Linked DNA regions of Homo sapiens: region 1 is linked to region 2. Evidence: promoter capture Hi-C in 16 types of primary human blood cells and fetal thymus (Javierre and others, 2016). All regions are on one chromosome and are shown on one strand. Each heading gives the region's core, a stretch centred on a gene start or on the middle of the fragment in contact. The rest is flanking DNA. Distances are from core to core; before and after follow the strand shown. Region 1 has its middle 97 kb from the start of CPXM2. Region 2 holds the start of HMX3 (H6 family homeobox 3).

Evidence for each region. The method cuts DNA at HindIII sites, captures the fragments that hold promoters and counts their contacts. A CHiCAGO score of 5 or more calls a contact.
Region 1: a contact is called between a fragment that was not itself captured here and the fragment with the promoter of HMX3 in region 2, in 1 of 17 cell types (M1 macrophages). The highest score is 5.2, in M1 macrophages.

Annotation. Positions count from the first base shown.
Region 1 is chr10:123,986,658-123,991,912 of GRCh38, forward strand. It overlaps the pseudogene YBX2P1. Among named protein-coding and RNA genes, the nearest start is that of CPXM2, 97 kb to the left of the region's middle. The HindIII fragment of the contact is 2,575 bases long and covers 1,549-4,123 here.
Region 2 is chr10:123,133,601-123,138,424 of GRCh38, forward strand. It overlaps HMX3 (H6 family homeobox 3), which reads left to right and starts at 2,370. Exons shown (of 2, transcript NM_001105574.2): 1 at 2,370-2,850; 2 at 3,458-4,824. The coding sequence starts at 2,451. The coding sequence ends at 4,131. RefSeq lists silencers at 1,539-1,658, 1,689-1,818, 2,199-2,278, 2,329-2,738, 2,749-2,798 and enhancers at 1,585-2,535, 3,718-4,682. The HindIII fragment of the contact is 8,924 bases long and covers 1-4,824 here.

The DNA of each region.
Region 1 (5,255 bases), core at 1,586-4,085, 850 kb after region 2:
GCAGTTTTACCCAAGTTAACTTCAGAGAAGAGCAGAACTTTCAATGGAAATTTCAAACAGTAGAATCCATATCCTGAAGCAGTTCTTTAAAGAATTATAACAGAAAACGAAGCATGGCCTTACTAGCATGATCCTGAACACCAGGCACAATCAAAGCAATGGCTACAAAGGAGTCCTGTCAAAGCAAAACAGACTAGTCAAGGGCAAAGGTCATAGCAACATGTTTGGGGATGCTCAAGGCATTTGGTTTGTTGACTTTCTGGAGAACTAAAGAATGATAACATCTGCTTATTATGAGAGTGTTTTCAAAAAGTTAGCCAAAGCTTTAAGAGAAAATCTCCCAGGCAATCTTCACCAGAATCCTTCACCACAAGAATGTTCCTGCTCATTCCTCTTGTCAAACAAGGGCTTTTATGAGAGTTTCAATGAGAAATCATTAGGTATGCACCTTACAGTCCTGATGTGGCTTCTTCTGCCTTCTTTTTGTTTCTTAATCTTAAAAAAAAATGTATTTTTTATTTCATTTATTTATTTTTTGAGACAAGAGTCTTGCTCTGTCACTCAGGTTGGAGTGCAGTGGCGTGATCTCAGCTCACTGCAACCTCTGCCTCCTGGGTTCAAGCGATTCTCGTGCCTCAACCTCCCAAGTAGCTGGGATTACAGGTGTGCACCACCACACCCAGCTAATTTTTGTATTTTTGGTAGAGACGAGCTTTTGCCATGTTGGCCAGGCTAGTCCCCAACTCCTGATCTGCCCACCTTGGCCTCCCAAAGTGCTGGGATTACAGGCATGAGCCACTGCACCCGGCCTTAATCTTAAAAAATCTTTAAATGGCACCCATTTTCCTTTAGTTAATAATGTAAAAAAGACTACATTGACATAGTTAAATTCCCAGGACCCTCAGTTCTTCAGGAACGGACTAAATGGCTGGTATCATCCTGTATTAGTCCATTGTCAAACTGCTATTTATTAGAAAAGAGGTTTAATTGGCAGGCTGTACAGGAACCATGGCGGCATCTGCTTCTGGGAAGGCCTTGGGAAGTTTTACTCATGGCAGAAGGCAAAGTGAGAGTAGGTGTCTTACATGGCAAGAGCAGGAGGGATGGTGGGGGTGGGCAGGAGGTGCTACACACTTTTAAACAACCAGGTGTCACAAGAACTCACTATCATGAGGACAGCATCAAGGGGTAGTGCTAAAACATTCATGAGAAATGTGCCCCCGTAACCCAATCACCTCCCACCAGGCCCCACCCACCTCCAACACTAGGGATTACAGTTGAACATGAAATTTGGGTGGGGACACAGATCCAAACCATATCACATCTCTTAGAAAAATGTCTTGAAGTTGATGGAGCTTATGTTGAGAAATGAAATTTATGCTTTAAATTTTTATCTTTTAATTCCATTTTTTCCTAACTTTTTGAAGTCCCCTTGTATTGTTAACTATAGTCACCCTACTGTGCAATAGAATACTATAACTTATTTCTTCTATCTACCTGTAATTTTGTACCCATTGACCAATCTCTTCTCATCCCCTCCTTCCCCTAAGCTTCTCCACCCTCTGGTAACTTCTATTCTACTCTGCAGTTCTATGAGATCAGCTTTTTCAGATTCCACAAGTGAGCTAGATCATGTGGTATTTATACCTCTGAGCTTGGCTTATTTCACTTAACATAATGTCCTACAGGTTCATCCATCTTGCAGAAAATAACAAGACTCGATTCTTTTTATGGCTGAATACAATTCCATTGTGTATGCGTACCTCATTTTCTTTATCCATTCATTCACTAATGGACACTTCGGTTGCTTCCATATCTTCACTATTATGAATGGTGTTGCAATAAACATGGAGGTGCAGGTGTCTCTTTGACATACTGGCTTCATTTCCTTTAGATATATACAGTATACCCAGCAGTGAGATTGCTGGATCATACGGTAGCTCTATTTTTAATTTTTTGAGGAACCTCCATACTGTTTTCCATAACAGCTGTGCTAGTTTACATTCCTCACCAGCAGTATATAAGGTGATATGGTTTGGCTCTGTGTCCCCAACCAAGTCTCATATTGAATTGTAATAATGCCCATGTTTCATGGGAGGGGCCCAGTGGGAGGTAATTGAATCTTGAGAGTGGGTTTTTCCCATGCTATTCTCATAACAGTGAATAAGTCTCGTGAGATCTGATGATTGTATAAAAGGGCAGTTCCCCTGCACAAGCCTTCATGCCTGCTGCCATGTAAGACATGTCTTGCTTCCCTTTTACCTTTCACTGTGATTGTGGGGCCCCTGCAGCCATGTGGAACTGTGAGTCAATTAAACCTCTTTCCTTCATAAATTACTCAGTCTCAGGTATGTCTTTATTAGCCACGTGAGAACAGACTATTACATAAGGGTTCCCATTTCTTCACATCTTTGCCAGTATTTCTTTTGTTTTTTGTCTTTTTGGTAATAACCATTCTACTTGGGGTGAGGTAATATCTCATTATGGTTTTTATTTGCATTTCCCTCATGATTAGTGATGTTGAGCATTTTTTTACACTCCTGTTGGCAATGTTTATGTATTCTTTAGATAAATATCTGTTCAGATCTTTTGCCCATTTTAAAATTCAATTATTTAGTTTTTTGCTAGTGAGTTGAGTTCTTTATATATTCTGGATATCAGCCGCTTGTCAGATGCATAGTTTGCAAATATTTTCTCCTATTCTATAGATTGTCTCTTCACTCTGTTGATTGTTTCCTTTGTTGTACAAATGCTTTTTAGTTTGCTATAATACCATTTGTCTATTTTTGCTTTTGTTGCCTATGCTTTTGAGCATAGGCAACAAAAAATCCTTGCCCAGGCCTATGTCCTAAAACATTTCCCCTATGTTTTCTTCTAGTAGTTTTACAGTTTCAGGTCTTACATTTAACTCTTCAATCCATTTTGAGTTGATTTTTTTTAATATGGTGAAAGAAAGTGGTAGAGTTTTATTCTTCTGAATGTCAATATCTAGTTTTCTCAGCACCATTTACTAAAGAGGCTGTCCTGTCTCCCAGTGTGTGTTCTTGACACCTTTGTCAAAAAAAATCAGTTGGCTATAACTGCTTGCATTTATTTCTGGGTTCTCCATTCTCTCACATTAGTCTATATGTCTTGTTTTTATGCTAATATCATGTTGTTTTGGTTACTATAGCTTTGTAGTGTATCTTGAAGTTAGGTAGTTTAATGCCTCCAGCTCTGTTCTTTTTGCTTAAGATTGCTTTGGTTATTTGGGTTTTTTTATGGTTTGGTACATATTTTAGGATTGTTTTTTCTATTTTTGTGAAGAATGTTAATTTTTTTGATCGGGATTGCATTGAAATTCTAGATCACTTTGTGCAGTATGAACATTTTAACAATATTAATTCTTCTAACCCATGAACATAAAATACCTTTCCATTTATTTGTGTCCTCTTCAGTTCGTTTCATTGATATTTTATATTTTCATTGTAGAAATCTTTCACCACTTTGATTCAATGTATTCTTGGTTTGTTGTTGTAGTTGTTGTTTTTGAGACACAGTCTCACTCTATTGCCCAGGCTGGAGGGGAGAGGCACTATCTCGCCTCGCTGCAACCTCTGCCTCCCGCATTCAAGCAAGTCTCCTGCCTCAGCCCCCCAAGTAGCTGGGATTACAGGTGTGCACCACCATGCCTAGCTAGTTTTTGTATTTTTAGTAGATACAAAACGGGTTTCACCATGTGGCCAGGCTGATCTTAAACTCCTGACCTCAGGCAATCCTCCTGCCTCAGCCTCCCAAAGTGCTGGGATTATAAGCGTGAGCCACCACACCCAGCCCAGGGATTGCTTTCTCGATTTCTTTTTCAGATAGTTTGCTATTGGTGTATGGAAACAGTACTAATTTCTGTATGTTGATTTTGTACCATGCAACTTTAATGAACTTATGAATTCTAACGGTTTTTTTGGTGAAGACTTTAGAAGATCACGTCATCAGCAGACAGAGAAAATTTGACTTCTTTCTTTCCAATTTGGATGCTCTCTATTTCTTTCTCTTACCTAATTGCTGTGGCAGGGACTTCCAGTACTATGTTGAATACAAGTGGTGAAAGTGGGCATCCTTGTCTTATTCCAGATTTTAGAGGAAAAGCTTTCAGCTTTTTTTTATTCAATATGATATTAGCTGTGGGTTTGTCATATATGTCCTTTATTGTGTTGAGATATGTTCCTTTTCACACCTAATTTGTTGGTGATTTTCATCATGAAGGGATGTTACCTTTAGTCAAATCCTTTTGTTGACGTTGATTGAGACGATCATATGGTTTTTCTCCTTGCAGAGTCTCATAGGAGTCCTCAGTGAAATGCAAGACAGCGCAGGTTCCTGACAGCATCTCTCCATCCAGGCCAAGGCAGACTGGCCGTCTCACAGCTGGATGGGGACACAGATCGAGTTCTGGCAACTGAAATGTGAGTGGACTTAAATGGGTCGCTTCTCAGCTAAGGCAATGGTAGTTCCCTCTTCTGGTGCATGGGCTGAGAGGGCCCCGTGTTCCAAGAGGCATAGCCACTGGTTGGTGAGGGGCTGTGATACGTGAACAAGCATGGGCTTGAGGGACTGGGGAAAGGGAGCGATTAAGAAGTGCAGGCCGGGCATGATGGCTCATGCCTGTAATCTCAGCACTTCGGGAGGCCAAGACGGGAGGATCACTTGAGGTCAGGAGTTTGAGACCAGCCTGACCAACATGGTGAAACCTCGTCCTACTAAAAATACAAAAATTAGCCGGGCGTTGTGGCACACGCCTGTAATCCCAGCTACTTGGGAGGCTGAGGCAGGAGAATCACTTGACTCCGAGAGGTGGAGGTTGCAGTGTGCCGAGATCAGCCATTTCACTCCAGCCTGGGCGACAGAGCGAGACTCCATCTCAAAAAAAAAAAAAAAAAAAAAAAAAAAAGAAGTGCAGCAATTAAGAATGAAGACATTGGGCGTCCGGGCGAGGCTCGGGGCGCGAGGATCGCGCAGCGCAGCGGGTTCGCCAGCCGGGGGGAGGGGCCGGGGCGGTGGCGGCGGCGGCGGAGGAGGCGGTGGCGGCGGGGGCCGGTACTGGACCCGGCGGGATGAGCGAGGTGGAGGCGGCAGCGGTGGCGACAGCGGTCCCCGCGGCGACGGTGCCCGCGACGGTGGCAGGGGTGGTAGCGGTGGTGGTACCGGTGCCCGCAGGGGAGCCGCAGAAAGCAGGCGGCGGGGCGGGCGGCTGCGGCGGGGACGCAGCCGCCTTGGAC
Region 2 (4,824 bases), core at 1,120-3,619:
CCTCCCCAGACTGAACCCTCAGCATTCCCAGTTTAAAGTCGACTTTCGTGCGTCAGAACTCTAGCCAAGTTTGCATGCGTCTGCGCTGAATGGCGAAGCTCCCAAAACACACAGGCATACACGCCGGGGTCTCTCCACGCATACTCGGCCGCGTGGCAGGCTGTGTGCAGGCGGTGCCCACCCAACCCTCATAGACCTACGTGCATCGAGCTATTTCTGCGGTTGGGGGAAAATGACCTCTGGGTATCCAGCAGCGATTGGGCGACCTAGGCCCAGTTTCCTCCTCTCTGGGCGCGGGTTTCCACTTACAAAATCCAAGTATGAGACCCACCCTGCTGGGGTCTCAGGGCAGTGATCCGTTCCAACCCAGATTTTGGATGGCGTAGCGTTTTGCATTCCAGTAAAGCCCTGTGTAAACTCAAGGGAGTAATAACAGTAATTGTTTATGGAAGCGCCATTTACGTTTCCAGATTTCCAAAGCAAAAATGGGGTTCGCTGCTGTAGATGAATGCAGAAAGAAACATTACATATGCCCGTCGAGATTTGGTGGGGGAGGGTCTGACGCCCCAGGACCGAAAAACAAAATCTACCTCTCAAGTGGGGACCCCACACGATCACGTCTGCCAATGCAGGGCGGCCTTGAATTAGGCGAGGCTCAATCTAACGAAAAAGAAAGCGGTGGGGAGGTGAAGGGATCCCAAAAAGCCCTCGTGTGCGGGAGCTTCACCAGGGTGGAAGAGGGTGAGGCCAGTTTGTCACCTTTCTCTGATAAGAAAGCTGTCTCTCGGGAGGGGACCTCACAAACAATTCTGATTTACTTGATGCTTAAATCATGAGTCTTAAATGTCTGCCTCATGGGCTTCTCGTGCGAACCGGGGAGCTGTTTTTAAAGCCAGTGGAGTGGAATGTCCTTTCACTAAGCCGTTCTGCAAAGGTCCAGTGTGGTTCTCTAAGGACTTCGCTGCCGTCGAGACGCGCAGCGGATGCCGCTGCTTGCCGCGGCGGAGGAAGCTACGCCGCTGCGCCTTCGGTTCACCTTGCCCCCATTAAAGCGTTAGTTAGACAGCTCCAAACGCCAGCTGGCCGGAGAGACTTCCTGGGAGAAAGTGCTGTCGTCGGGGTCACAGACTCGGAGTTGATCCGCGAGCCTTGGGCACCGGCGGCCAGAGCAGAGGGGTGCCCTTCCGAGAGCAGCCGTCGGTGCCGAGAAGCTGTTGCCCCAGCAGCCCCACCGAGTGACGCGCGGGTTTTGGCCGGGTCAGCGCGCATACGCACACAGGCACACCCACTCCTGGTCCCGGGGGAAGGCTCACTCTTCGGTTTTCCAGGGCTAAAGGCCAAGGCCACGCGGATTTCTGAGTCCGAAGACGCAGTGCGAGGACTTACACCTGGATTCCCTTACTATCGGCTGGATGGTGGGTGGGGAACCCAAATCCCTCTCTTCTTGGCCTCGCCCTTCCTAGCAGGCTTTAGGAAAAATACCGAGGTCGCCGGACCCCAAAGGGTAGGAAAATGATGAGTTCTCCGAGGGCCGAGGTCACGTCCTGCCTCTTGGGCCGGCGCTGCGTGGCTCTCCAGCTGCGTGGGGGCGGCGGGCCCCTGTCCAGCCCCAGGGGGCGGGGGAGCGGCAGCTGCGAGCGCAGATAACCCCGAGGTGACCCGGGAGGGCCTGGTCCGCCCCTCCCCCCTCCCGCAGGCCTGGCGGCGGGAAGCGGGTCCCTGCGCCGCAGGGGGGAGAGGCAGGCGCGGTCTCCGGGCTCGCGGCCGTTAGTGCGCTTCGGCCAAGGGCGCCGCCTGCTCCGCGTCCCTCGCTCGCCTCCTGCGCTCGCAGGAGCGCTCCGAGTGCCTCTTTAGCGGGAGCCAATATCCTTTTGTGCTAATAGGCTTGTCCTCATTTGCTGCCTAATTGGACTATATAAAGCCAATAACGGGCGGGCTCTTATAGCCCGAAGCCAAAGCGCCAAAATCCGAGGGAAGGCGAGGAGGGGGCGGTGGCGGAGGCGGCTGCGGGGCCGGGGCTCGGCTGAGCCTTCGCCTGCCTAATCCCATTTGCCATTGTACGCGCCCAATCGCCGTATACTCCCCGCATTTAACTTGGATGACATTTTGATTTCATCATTAGCATCCGGCGCCGGATTGACGCAGCCTCGAGCCGGGGACTGCTCTTGCTGCCTCCTCCGCGGGAGCCGCAGCCGCAGCCGAGCCGCCTCGATCCCTCGGTGCCGCGGCAGGGCCGCTCCCCGCCCCTCCGCACCCCTCCCTCATGCGAGCCCGCCCGTCTGGGTCCTCACTCCGCCCTCCCGCCGTTGGATTTGCGCCCGGGGCGGCCCCCGACTTTGCGCCCCGTAGTTGAGTTCCGTTTATGGTCTGATTTCCGGCCTCTCGCCTGCTCGCCCCGCCGCCCGCCTGTCCCGCTCCCTCCCTCCCGGGGACCCGGAGGAGAGGGGACCATGCCGGAACCCGGGCCGGACGCTGCCGGCACCGCCAGCGCACAGCCCCAACCGCCGCCGCCCCCCCCACCCGCTCCCAAGGAGTCCCCGTTCTCCATCAAGAACCTGCTCAACGGAGACCACCACCGGCCGCCCCCTAAGCCTCAGCCGCCCCCACGGACGCTCTTCGCGCCAGCCTCGGCTGCCGCCGCCGCCGCCGCTGCCGCTGCCGCGGCGGCCAAGGGGGCCCTGGAGGGCGCCGCGGGCTTCGCGCTCTCGCAGGTGGGCGACCTGGCTTTCCCTCGCTTTGAGATCCCGGCGCAGAGGTTTGCCCTGCCCGCGCACTACCTGGAGCGCTCCCCAGCCTGGTGGTACCCCTACACCCTGACCCCCGCCGGCGGCCACCTCCCGCGACCTGAAGGTACCGACCTCTCTTTGAACTTTCGTTGTCCCCCTGCGCGCCCGCCCCGTCCCCGCCCCGCGCTGCTTCCCTCCGCAGTTCTGGGACCCCAGCACCCGCAAACCCTCTGCTCGGTCAGTTTTTTTCGGCCCCTAGCCTGCCCTCGCGCTGGGTTGCGCTGCCCGTTAATCCAATCCCACTTGGTGAGAAAAGAAGTGGAATTGGAGCCCCGGGCACGGTGCTTCCCGGGAAAAGTGGCCTCGGGCGTGAATAGGGAGGCTTCGGACGGCCGGGGCTTGGGACACGGCCTGGAAGGAGGGGGTGATTCCAATGCGCCTAAGCCGAAAGGGAACCGTTCTGCCGGCCCCTGGCGAGGAAGCTGAGGGAATGGAAGGAGGTGGCCGCGCTACCACCATCTGCTTGCCTGTCCTCGGGAGGAGGGGGATCCCAGGACTCGGCGTCCCTTCTCTGGCCCAGCCGAGAAGGAGGCAGCCCGCGGGAATGGTGAGGCCTCATGGCCTGGGACCTGGAGGCCGGCGCGGGTTGAGCCTGCCGTCCCCAGGCGCCGGGCCTCGCTCAAGGCTGTGTCGGTGTGCATGTGTGTGCGTCCGTCTGTCTGTCTCCCCAGCCTCGGAGAAGGCCTTGCTGAGAGACTCCTCCCCCGCCTCCGGCACAGACCGCGACTCTCCGGAGCCACTGCTCAAGGCCGACCCCGATCACAAGGAGCTGGACTCCAAGAGCCCGGACGAGATCATTCTGGAGGAGAGCGACTCCGAGGAAAGCAAAAAGGAAGGCGAAGCGGCGCCAGGCGCGGCCGGGGCGAGCGTAGGGGCGGCGGCGGCCACTCCGGGCGCAGAAGACTGGAAGAAGGGCGCTGAAAGTCCAGAGAAGAAGCCGGCGTGCCGCAAGAAGAAGACGCGCACAGTCTTCTCGCGCAGCCAGGTCTTCCAGCTCGAGTCCACCTTCGACATGAAGCGCTATCTGAGCAGCTCGGAGCGAGCCGGCCTGGCCGCGTCCCTGCACCTCACCGAGACGCAGGTCAAGATCTGGTTCCAGAACCGCCGCAACAAGTGGAAGCGGCAGCTGGCGGCGGAGCTGGAGGCGGCCAACCTGAGCCATGCCGCGGCGCAGCGCATCGTGCGGGTGCCCATCCTCTACCACGAGAACTCGGCGGCCGAGGGCGCGGCGGCTGCAGCCGCGGGGGCCCCGGTGCCAGTCAGCCAGCCGCTGCTCACCTTCCCGCACCCCGTCTACTACTCGCACCCGGTGGTCTCTTCCGTGCCGCTGCTACGGCCGGTCTGAGGCCCCAGAGGGGTGGGGGAGGGAGCGCCCGGCCTCCTTGTCCGGACCCCGGAGGAGACTGGGCCGGGCCGAGGGCGCCGAGAAGTCCAGCGGCCTTCAGGAACTGGGGCTTGGGCGCGCAGCCTCTGCTTCCCCTCCCCCAGTCGGTAGCATTTTGTAAGTATTTGCAATGCATTTTCGTGCAATTCATCCCTAATGGATTGGAGGCGCTTCCCCTCTTACTTTTGGTTTTTGGCTTATATTAAGAGAAAGCAGGAACAAGACAAAATTTTCGGGTCAGAGATTTCGGCCGATAGTTTTTGTAAAATGTGCAGCCCTCCCTTCCAAATTTCCATTGCGCGGTGGCTTTTTGGTTTTATTTTTATAGAAGGAAAATAAGCGCAAAACCTAAATCCCTCTAGTTTATTCTTTTCTGCTTTTTTTTTTTTTTCCGAGACGGAATCTTGCTCTATCTATTGCCCAGGCTGGAGTGCAGTGGCGCGATCTCGGCTCACTTCGACCTCCGCCTCCCGGGTTCAAGTGATTCTCCTGTCTCAGCCTCCCGAGTAGCTGGGATTGCAGGTGTGTGCCACCACGTCCGGCTAATTTTTGTATTTTTAGTAGAGACGCGGTTTCACCATGTTGGCCAGGCTGGTCTTGAGCTCCTGACCTCGTGATCCGCCCGCCTCGGCCTCCCAAAGTGCTGGGATTACA